2 separate regions of the Homo sapiens genome follow, and region 2 is linked to region 1. The links are contacts of gene promoters, found by promoter capture Hi-C in human tissues and cell types (Jung and others, 2019). All regions are on one chromosome and are shown on one strand. The core of a region is centred on a gene start or on the middle of the fragment in contact, and the rest is flanking DNA. Distances in the headings are between cores, read along the strand shown. Region 1 holds the start of DSEL (dermatan sulfate epimerase like). Region 2 has its middle 160 kb from the start of TMX3.

Region 1 (4,793 bases), core at 1,346-3,845:
CTGCTCCAGGATTCTGAATTTAGCAGCTGTTGGTACATGTGTCTCTTGCCACACTCATAAAGGTTTTTAATGTACAATAACATAGCATATAGCTCATCCCTTCTATGGTCGGATGCATTATTTATAATTAACTAACTTTGTACCATCTTCATGTGTGGAAGGAGCAATAATTGGAGCTATCCATTTTTAGTTCACAGAAAACAAGACTCTCTTCATTTTTGACAGTGCCATTTACCTACCACCCTTTCTGCCAATGATTTGAATTGTTCAGTTGTGGCTCTTGTTTTATTTTAATGCATTCACATTTTACCACTATGCAAAGATGTCTGTTCAAAATGAATTAGTCTGAAAGCCCATCTGAGAATGCTGGGAGGCTAGCTGCATCCCCACTGCTTCAGCACAGATGCATGGGGCAGAGCTGAAAGGCCACAATGTCGGTACCTGAATTCATTCTTCTCTAAAGTGAAAATGATCATACTGATATTTCAAAATCTGAAAACAACATTGGAAGAATATTTGCCTGGCAGATGTTCGCGCATTAATTCTCTCTGACTCACCTTGCCCTCGCATCATGAGACACTTTGAATCCATAGAAATAACCCTGCCCCACACTTTGTTCTGAGAAATGTTCTGTACATCTAGTAGCTGTGTTTACTAACCCTAAATTCTAGGCTCCCCTCTGCAAACAGATAGGAATCTCTGGAGTCAGCTCCCCGTTTCCCCCAACTCTACTCTCTCATAAATGTGGTTGGAGGCCATGGGTCCTCTTCCTCTATCAGGGGCCATGTAGAGGCACAATCCAGATTTTACAGGAAGTTGTGTCAGAAGAGGATCCTTGTTTGGGAATAAACCTCAGTGGAGGAGACGAGGCTCTGTATCAGCCCAATTGTTCGAGGTTCAACTCATTTCAAAAGCAGATATAGTACTTACAAAGGGGACTTGAGTGCTACTCATGACTTGAAGGAGTTTTGAATAGGGTACAGGAGTCAACCAGTTGAAATAGAAAGCAGAAAATAAACAACCTAAACGGCCGAATATAGGTACAAATGATATAGTTCTGGAGTAATACATTCTGGCTAGGGAAACTTAGGAGTTATTTACAGAAGAATGTAAGCATCTGAGTTGAGACCTGGATGATCAGATAATTTCAACAGTCAGAAGAATTTTAACTAGTAAGTGGGGTGGTTGGGTAAAGGACACTGTGAGGGAAAGAATGGAATAAGCATAGTTACTGAAGCACCCAAGCAAAAGCAAGTGTGGCTATTTGGACTGGGCTAGGGGTTACTACGGGGCCAAAACAGAAGAGTGATGAGGAGTTAGAGGCCACATTTCACCTCAAAGTTAAATGATTTGAAATTTATTCTGCTAGCAGTCGTCTACTGTTTGATTTTCAGCAGCAAATGATCTAAGCAAGACATTTATTTTTAAAATGTTAAAATATATCTTATTAAATATTACCAAAATAGTATGGGAAATGAAGAGACTGAATGTGTTACTAATCCCCAACTGAGAATGGAATTGTTCATTTGTGAAGCTTGATATTTCCCTGTATTTTTATTACTACTAAGCTATTATTTTTTACATTTGAGGTCAGAGCTTGGGTTGGTTTATGCCAAAGTGTCATCTCAGCTATCTGTGAGAAGCTCCATGTGTGGAGTGCAACAGGAGTCCCAGCCTGCTCTAGGATTTCCACGACCTGGCACTGCACTCACATGTCGTAGTAGCCGGGGCACACTGCCTTCTCCTGTCTGCATGTAGGTCTTTACCGAATACCAGGTCCCATTTTTAAATAAGAGGCTCCTTCTACTTGTTTGTCCCATGCTTCCCCTATTTATACTGCCTGAGAAATTGTTTTCCATCAGTAAAGCTGATTAGTCTTTTCTGTTTTCCCTTGATCTTTGTTAGCATCTGGGCTACAGAAGTTGTCCTCCTATATTAATCTGGGTATTTCGGTTTTGCTTTTCCAAAGGACAGCAAGCTCAGCCAGGCTGCCTCTCAGTTCCAAGGGAGTGCTCATTCCCTCCTTCCCCAGCCCTTGCTCTTTCCAAAAGGATGATTTCTGTCGTCCCAGGGCTTATCCCCTCCCACTCCAGCTCCTCCCATCATTTGAGTCAATCCCACAGCCCCCACTATGGCTCTATTATATAGTTGTCGTCTTCCCATAACCAAAAGGTTTTAACGCCAGCCTGGCAGCGTCTTTAGACTCTCGCACTCCCAAACTGTCCCCTCCTCCAGCTCGACTCCTCCGGGAGCGCGCGGCCACCGCTGCAAGCCCAGAACACAAACGCCTAGAGCTTCCTCCGCTTAGAAACCCGGGGCGCTTGGCCCCGCCTCACCTGCTTTCGGCCCCGCCCCGCCCGCCGCCGGCCTGCTCACGGCTCCTCCCGTCCTCCCCGAAGCCCCGCCTCTGACCCCGCCCTGTCCTGTCTCCGTCCCGCCCCACGCCCGCCAGCCAGCGTCGCTGTCTCTCGCCTTCCCTGAGGCCCCGCCTTCAGCCCCGCCTTCAACCCCGCCCCGTCCTGCCTCCGCCCCGCCCCCGCTTGCCGGCCCGCGTCGCCGTCTCACCCTCCCCGGGCTGCGCGGCCGGAGCTGGCACAGAGGATCCTCGGCCGCGGCGACATCACCGCCTGGGCACGCGGGCGCTGCTCTGGATACGGCGCCACCGAGAGAACCCGCCGCCCGCGGGTCTCTGTCCTGCGGTCCGTGGTTGCCCCCACAAGCGTCCGGCGTTTCCTGAGGGCGGGCGTGTCCGGGCCGTGCGGGTCGCGGGGACCGAGCGCGGCTGAGGAGACCGAGCTGGGGCAGCGCCTGCCGTAGCGCGGGAGACGACGCGGGGGTCTTGCGGAGCCCCGCGGGAGCCTGGCCCGCCGTGCAGAGCAGTTTTCTGGAACTCTCCACCTCCGTCTCCCTTGGGGCCCAGTGCGGCGCCGAGCCCCCGTCGGGATCTGCCTGAGGTAAGCGGACTTGGTGGCTCAGGGGTCTCTCGCCATCCTGCCTCACTCAGCCCCAGAGCGGGGAGCGGAGAATGGGGGCGGCAGGGTCGGAGGACGCCAGTGAAAAAATGCAACAGGCGGGGCGGATCAGGAAACTCCTAGCCTGAATGTTTCCTACAGAGGGGAGACTTGTCCAAGACTGAAACTTGCTTAGGTTCTTCCAGCCGCGGACGGGCACGGAGAGGCGTCTTTCGACACCGGGGTCCGAGCTCCCTCTGGCGGCTCCACCTGAGGACAGGGACTCGGCCACAGGTGAGCGCCGAGCGCGGAGCTCCCGCCCCTCGGCTTGGCGCCTGGTCACGATTCGCGGTTACCCCGCCGAGAAAAGTGACTGGTCCGAGTAGTTCTCATTAGGAAGATACCTTCTGATCCCATGAACTCTAAACCTTCCCCCGGAATTAAAAAAAAAAAAAAAAAAAAAGATCTTTTCAACTTTCAGTTTTTTGTCCCTCGGTCCTTGGGAACAAGAAATAACAAGGATAGCAGGACTCATCTTTGTGTAAACTGCATTTGAATACAAACATTTTTTAAGTGACTGAAGCCACGTTAGTGGCGTTAAACTATAGATATTGTCGGGAGAGTTCTATCTTGTATATTTTGTATTGTTAGTTGCTTGTCTTCTGCTGACGGTCACTGGTTTCCAAATAAGTGCGTGTAAATGGATAAGAAAAAAATCACTTGCCCTAGCTTAGGTTGCAGATAATATGAGATTTTACTGTGATTCTAAAATTTCTATTAAGTGATTGCAGAATGTTTAAGTCATCAGTTTATATTCATTCTCAGCATACCTGAAGCCTCAGAGAATTTTTATTTTGTCCCCCATCCCCAGAAAAGTGTCATGAAAAAAGAGCAGAAGAGAGACCTCACTGTTGCTGAAAGGGGAATTTTCTTTCCCCGTTGGCGGTTACTTCATGATCGGACGAGAAGTATCTAGGTGACTGAAGATATTCCATTTTTATGTTTGTACACATGAAGCTGATAAAAGAAGATGTGAACATGATTTCTCTTTGTCATAATAGGCTGATGAGTAAGTAAGCCTGAAAAATATTTGAAATGAAGGCAAGAATTTTGAATTTTTAAAAACCAACTAAGACTTTGATCACTTGTTGAGGATGTTTCTCTCTCATAAATGAAAGAAAAACGTATTCACAAGACAAGAAGTATAAAAAGTTGAGAGGAATGACAACTGAGTCCACTCACTCGAAGAATGTCAGTACTTCATCATCTTCTTTGGGCAAACATACACAAATGCATCATACATGTGTGGTGAGCTTATCACCAGTGATGGTTTTCTGTGCTAGAAATGACTCTTAATTTGAATTTTGGAGTGCTTTTTCTCTTTTTTTACAATGTGTGTTCCAACTCTTTGTGTTAAATAGATTTAAGTAAAGGAGGTAAATGCTAAATTCATAGTGTTTTTTACCTGTATCACTTCCCTGTGTATTATGGAAAAATTAGAGATTTTAACGTTATTCAAAGTTTTACTGGAAGCAAAACTGTGCCAGGGACAGAGATATACAATTTAAGTTTTCTCTTTTTGGCAACTGCACTTGCTTAAAATGTACTGAATGTCAGCTGGATTTCACAGCATATCAGATTTACAGTCTTTGTCTTATCAAGGCCTTTACTGTATGTTTTATACTAACCAGATGGGAAACACATTGAGCATCATATCTGACATGTATGCCTAAGGGAGGAGCTCCCCCATGGATCATGGCGTTAATGTTTACAGGACATTTACTATTCTTAGCATTATTGATGTTTGCTTTCTCTACTTTTGAGGAATCTGTGAGCAATTAT
Region 2 (5,487 bases), core at 1,847-4,346, 1.0 Mb before region 1:
CACAGGCCTCGTGTTGCAAGCCCATTGTCTATAAGCTGCTGCTTTACTCTACACTGTGTTTATTACACCCTAGGCTGATGGAACCTCCTCTGTGTAGGACATTGTCAGTCTTGTGTCAGATGGAAAAGGACTTCACAACTGTAAGCTGGCTCCTAAAGCATCTGCTCAGAAGTGACACAGATAAGTTTTGTCTACATTTTGTTGGCCAAAGCAAGTCACATGGATTCAACAGTTTGATCATATATAATTCTCCCTCAGGGTAGGGCCCACAAGCCATATAGCCAAGCTTGATATCAGGAGAAACACTCCTTGATATAATTTTTAAGTCACATACAATTTTAAGTGACATACCAAGCCCAATATCAATGCGGTAGAGAAGTAGGCTCCTCTTTCAGGGATGAAAAGTGTATATTTTAAATAGGAATATAATCTATCATTCTTGTGATACTCATAGGGATGAAGCAATATCTCATTGGGTATATTTTTACCTGTTTAAGCACTATTGGAATTTTGTCTTCTGTGAATCAGCCAGTAATATCATTTGCCCATTTCTCTATTGGTTTGCTTTCTTTCCTTATTGAAGATCAAAATTTTTTTGCTATTTTATGCATAACAAAAAGGGCTATTTTTTTTTTTTTTTTGAGATGGAGTCTCGCTCTGTCACCCACTCTGGAGTGCAGTGGCTCTATCTTGGTTCACTGCAAGCTCCGCCCTCCAGGTTCATGCCATTCTCCTGCCTCAGCCTCCTGAGTAGCTGGAACTACAGGTGCCTGCCACCACGCCTGGCTAATTTTTTGTATTTTTTGGTGGAGACAGGATTTCACCGTGTTAGCCAGGATGGTCTCAATCTCCTGACCTCGTGATCTGCCTGCCTCAGCCTCCCAAAAGGGCTATATTTTTTAAATGAAGATAATAATAAATTATAGGGCTACAGTAAGACATAGCTTAATAAATATTTTATAAACTTGATCATGCCTGAAATATAATAAATTCTCAATAAATATGAGCTATTATTTTTAAATATTGTCTGTATCATGAGTCAGCAAACTATAGTCTCTAGGCTAAATCTGTCCCTCTGCCTGATTTTGTAAATAAAGTTTTATTGAAACTCAGCTACACTAATTTATTTAGGTATTGTCTATGGCTGCTTGTGCTACAAAGGCCGAGTTGAATGTTTGGGACAGAGACTGAATGTCCCACAAAACCTAAAGTATTTACTATCTATCTCTTTACAGAAAAAGTTTGCCAATCTCTGATCTAGCTCAATGAATTAAATGGAGATAAAATGGCACCACCACTCCAGTAACCTTTAGGTCCAAACGCTGGTTCTAATCTTTACCCTAGACTCTACAATGCAACATTAATGTTTGATCTGCTATCTTGACTGCAGGGGTAAAGGTGATTTCAGAGGCTTTCAACTGGTCTTTCCTCCTGTGAGAATTCTTAGCCCACCAAACCAAGGACCCTGAAGGTTCTGCCAACTACTAATTATTTTCAATCCACTAGTAGAGTCCATGGCCCCAGAGGACCCAATGTGAGTTGGTCCTGGGCCAGAATTCTATAACGTGGCCCTCATATAACCTGCACTCTTTCAGAGAGGGATGTGATGATGCTTTGTGTTTCTAGTTATCAATGTATGAGTATTGTATGAGTAATGTATAAGTATTCCCCTTGTTCAGAATACATAGTTGCTGAGTAAATAGCCATAGGTCTTTTGGGGATGAGCTTGGGGAATTATTGCCTTATTCATTTACCGTGGTGTTTCAGGGTCCAACCTGCTTGCAATCCAGCTTCTCTTTCCAAGAAATGGGCTCCATGAAAACTGTCTTATGTCCTAAAACTAGCCAAAAGTTTGTGATCTTTCTTGGGGATGACTGCTCTCAACTCCTAATCACCCATTCTTGAATTAGTTTGATTGTATAGATAGAACAGTATTCTTATCTGATGCCCATACATCTTGCTCCTGGGAAAGTCATCTTCTGTTAACTATTCACATAACTCCCATGCTCAGGTACCATTTTGGCTGCTCATTATGATAACTGCCCCCATGAAGGTCCTCTGCCTTGCCTTTCTTATTCGAGGTTTCTATTATTCCCATTGCTATCAGGGAGCACATTTCTGTAAGAGCCTCTCCTGCCATCATCCCAGGTCTATAGAAGATAGCTATCACTTGATAATGATACTGGTAAGATAGACATTCCTTATTGTTCTGATAAACTGAGATCAGCCTTCCTTATTTCTTTGATATGTAGAGTTTCAGGCAGGTCCTCCTGAGAAGCAGAGTAGGCAGGGGTACTGGATCTCAGATATAGAACCAATTTAGCAAATCCTCTTTTATAAATCATTTGCAGTCATCCTGTAGAGTATGCCATTGTTGTTCTATTTTAACTACAGTTGATATGAAGCATCACTTTTTCTAAGCTTCAAAGTTACCCAGTGGTAATATTAGAATGGCCTCCTGGGACTCCTACTAGGGGATTAAATCCTATCTTCTGGGAGTGTTCCCAGATTGAGAATTCTCATATCCATCTCTATGCTCTTCTTCTATTGATCCACCACCATCGGATTCATTCCAGCTGCACACAGTTCCTGGGGTTCATGTTAGCCTTGTCCTGTGGCTCCTTTGGCCTGTGGCCCCAACTACTCCTCAGGACACCCAGCAGTTCTCTTGTCAGTTATTGATCTGGTGGCCGGAAGAGAAGGGCTGACCTGGAGATGGGGTTGTTGGGGAAATATAATTAAAACACAATTTCCTTTGAACGTAGAAAACCTCTCCATAGAAGTAGAAAAGAAAGAAAACAGTTTCATTATTGAATAATCATTAAACCATAATGTGATGCGCATTACAGGAAATCTGCTAAGAGATTGCAAAACCAGAAAGACATCTCACCCTTTGATATAGCAGGCAAACACAACACATTACGCTCAAGTTTTCAAGATATATAATAATTAGCCCTCAAGTAAAAGGACTTGGCACTACCATTTGTCACATGTCGTTCATCCTAAGCTTATCTGGTAATTAGGGTGGCCATCTGTGTTTGCTAATTGACTTTGTCCAAAGGAAACATAAATGTCTCACATCTTTCTGACTAGAGGTATTGTAGTTTTGCAACTTGGAGCAAGGTGCCATGAAGTTAGGTTTCCTACCTTCTTTAGAAACTGGGTGCTAGGGCTGCTGTCTTCCCTCATGGTCACATTTCAAAGGGTTGATTCCCAGGTTCTTAAAAAAGACATTCCTGGGTTATAAAGTGGGCAAGAGGCTTATTTAGCTTTTTAAAAGATTTACATATATTTCAAAGAGAAAACTTAACACATGTTCTAAAGTCAAAGCTCTAAAAAAAGGGGGTGGGGGAGTCTTTTCCCTTATTTTAACAGCCAGAATTAAGCCTCTTATTTTTAATATGTGTTTGCCCTTAAGGGTCATATATTTACCGGCAAGAAAGTCATTTTCTTCAAGAAATAGGGGTAGGAGGGGTGGCATTCTCCTTAAATCCAAAGCAGTTGGCTAATTCTGCAGGCCTAGAGGCTCATAGAAATCGGCGAATTCACATTTTCAGGTGCATTAACTCGTGCTGCAGCTCTTATTTCATGCTGCCACTTCTAATCACTCAGTGTTCTGACTTTCATCTGGAAGACCTTCCGAGCTGAGAATCCAACATTTTCTCCACTTCTGCTGCTCTTGTGATTAAGTCCTGGGCCTGAGCCTTTTCTGTTCTCAAATGTTGCTAACAAAACCCCTGGACTTACACCTTGAGCCTCAGACTTTCATTGTCTTTTCCCACAGGTTACTTTCAGCTACAGTCATCCAAGTCCATTCTCCTTACAATTACTGTTCCTCATCCTTGACATGAAATTCATGTGTGTGTGTGTATTACATATATATGAAGTGGGTTTTTTCTGGTTGTCATATGTTTGTTTTAGTGATGGGGTCCCCTATGTTGCCCAGGCTGGAGTACAGTGGCTATTCACAGGTATGATCATGGCACACTACAGCTTCAAACTCCTGGGCTCAAGACCCTCCTGCCTCAGCCGCTTGAGTAGCTGGAAGTACAGATGCATTCCACTGTGCCCAGTTATATATATATATAATTTTATGTCACGAGTCTTTTTTGTATCATTTTGAAGCGCCGTGATGAAATTAGACAATAGTATTGATACAGAACAGCTGGGCTCCTGGCTAAACATCCACCCTTAAGCCTGGAACCTGGTTCTAAGTGAAAACAGCTGACCCCATTTTTCCACCCATATGTTGCTTTTTTGACCTGCCATGCCTCTATCTTGTGCCCATTCACACTACCTAAAAGACTTTAGCTAGCAGAGGGATACAAGCTGCTAAGCAGTAGGCAGAGAAGCAGCAACTTAGCATCAGAGACTACAGATAGATGCGGCTAACTTCAGACAGTATGTCTTCAGGGATAGATCACCTTCTTCCTACACCATCCCCTTTCCAATTCCCCACCCCTCTGATAGCCACTTTTATCACCCATTAAAATCCTCTGCATACACTACCCTTCAATCCATTTGTGCGACCTGATTCTTCCTGGAGGCCAGACAAGAACCTGAGTGCCAAGAGGGCAGGAGCTTGGACACTGCTGCAGAGCCTGCATAGAGCCTGCTCCTGCCAGAAAGGAGTGACTGGCCGGTTTCAGTGTTCCTTCCCTCTGGTTCCTGCACTCGCTTACATGCTCCCTCTCACGAGGAGAGTGGCCAGCGGTGGGCTGAGTGAAGTTAGCCACTCCAGTTCCCCTCTCAATATGGTTTATATTTACAAAACTGTTTTAGCAGCAAGAGTTTTTAAAGCAGACACAAATTTAATAAAATATTTAGTCTGGCAAATTTACAAAATGAAAACTCTATAATACTAATTGCTTCTGTTTGCATGGATCCATTTGTTTAACAAATCTTAAAGCTGCTGCACAGACATTCTTTAAACCCACTTTTAAATTTTTGGAAAAGTCCTATTTTCTTTTTCTTTTTTCTTTTTTTTTTGAGACAGAGTTTCACTCTTGTCCAGGTTTGAGTGCAGCGGTGCGATCTCGGCTCACTGCAACCTCCACTTCCTGGGTTCAAGTGATTCTCCTGCCTCAGCCTCCTGAGTAGCTGGAACTACAGGCACCCGCCACCTCGCCAAGCTAATTTTTTTTTTTTTTTTTAATTTTTAGTAGAGATGGAGTCTTGCCATGTTGGGCAGGCTGGTCTCAAACATCTGACCTCAGGTGATTCGCCCGCCTCGGCCTCCCCAAGTGCTGGGATTACAGGCATGAGCCACCACACCTGGCTGAAAAGTTCTATTTTTCAAGCATAGTCAGTGTTTATGATAATTTAATCTGTTGAATTAAGAACAATAGTATTTGCTAGTATATAATTTTTAGAGAAAAAAAATCAAATTCTGATGTTTTAAACCATGATACATTTGTTCTCTATATTCACACTACCCAAAAAGTATGAATAAACATCCAAAAGACTATATAATTATCTTGTTTTGCT

The links. Contacts are between HindIII fragments. The study calls those that stand out against the background at their distance.
Region 2: a fragment that was not itself captured here is called in contact with the fragment with the promoter of DSEL in region 1 in 1 of the 25 tissues and cell types used here (bladder).

Annotation. Positions count from the first base shown.
Region 1 is chr18:67,514,522-67,519,314 of GRCh38, reverse strand. DSEL (dermatan sulfate epimerase like) reads left to right here and starts at 2,595. Exons shown (of 2, transcript NM_032160.3): 1 at 2,595-2,954; 2 at 3,823-4,793. The coding sequence starts at 4,707. It overlaps DSEL-AS1 (DSEL antisense RNA 1), which reads right to left and starts at 2,769. Exons shown (of 5, transcript NR_033921.1): 1 at 2,566-2,769. The HindIII fragment of the contact is 11,831 bases long and covers 91-4,793 here.
Region 2 is chr18:68,556,496-68,561,982 of GRCh38, reverse strand. No RefSeq gene overlaps it. Among named protein-coding and RNA genes, the nearest start is that of TMX3, 160 kb to the left of the region's middle. The HindIII fragment of the contact is 3,483 bases long and covers 1,355-4,837 here.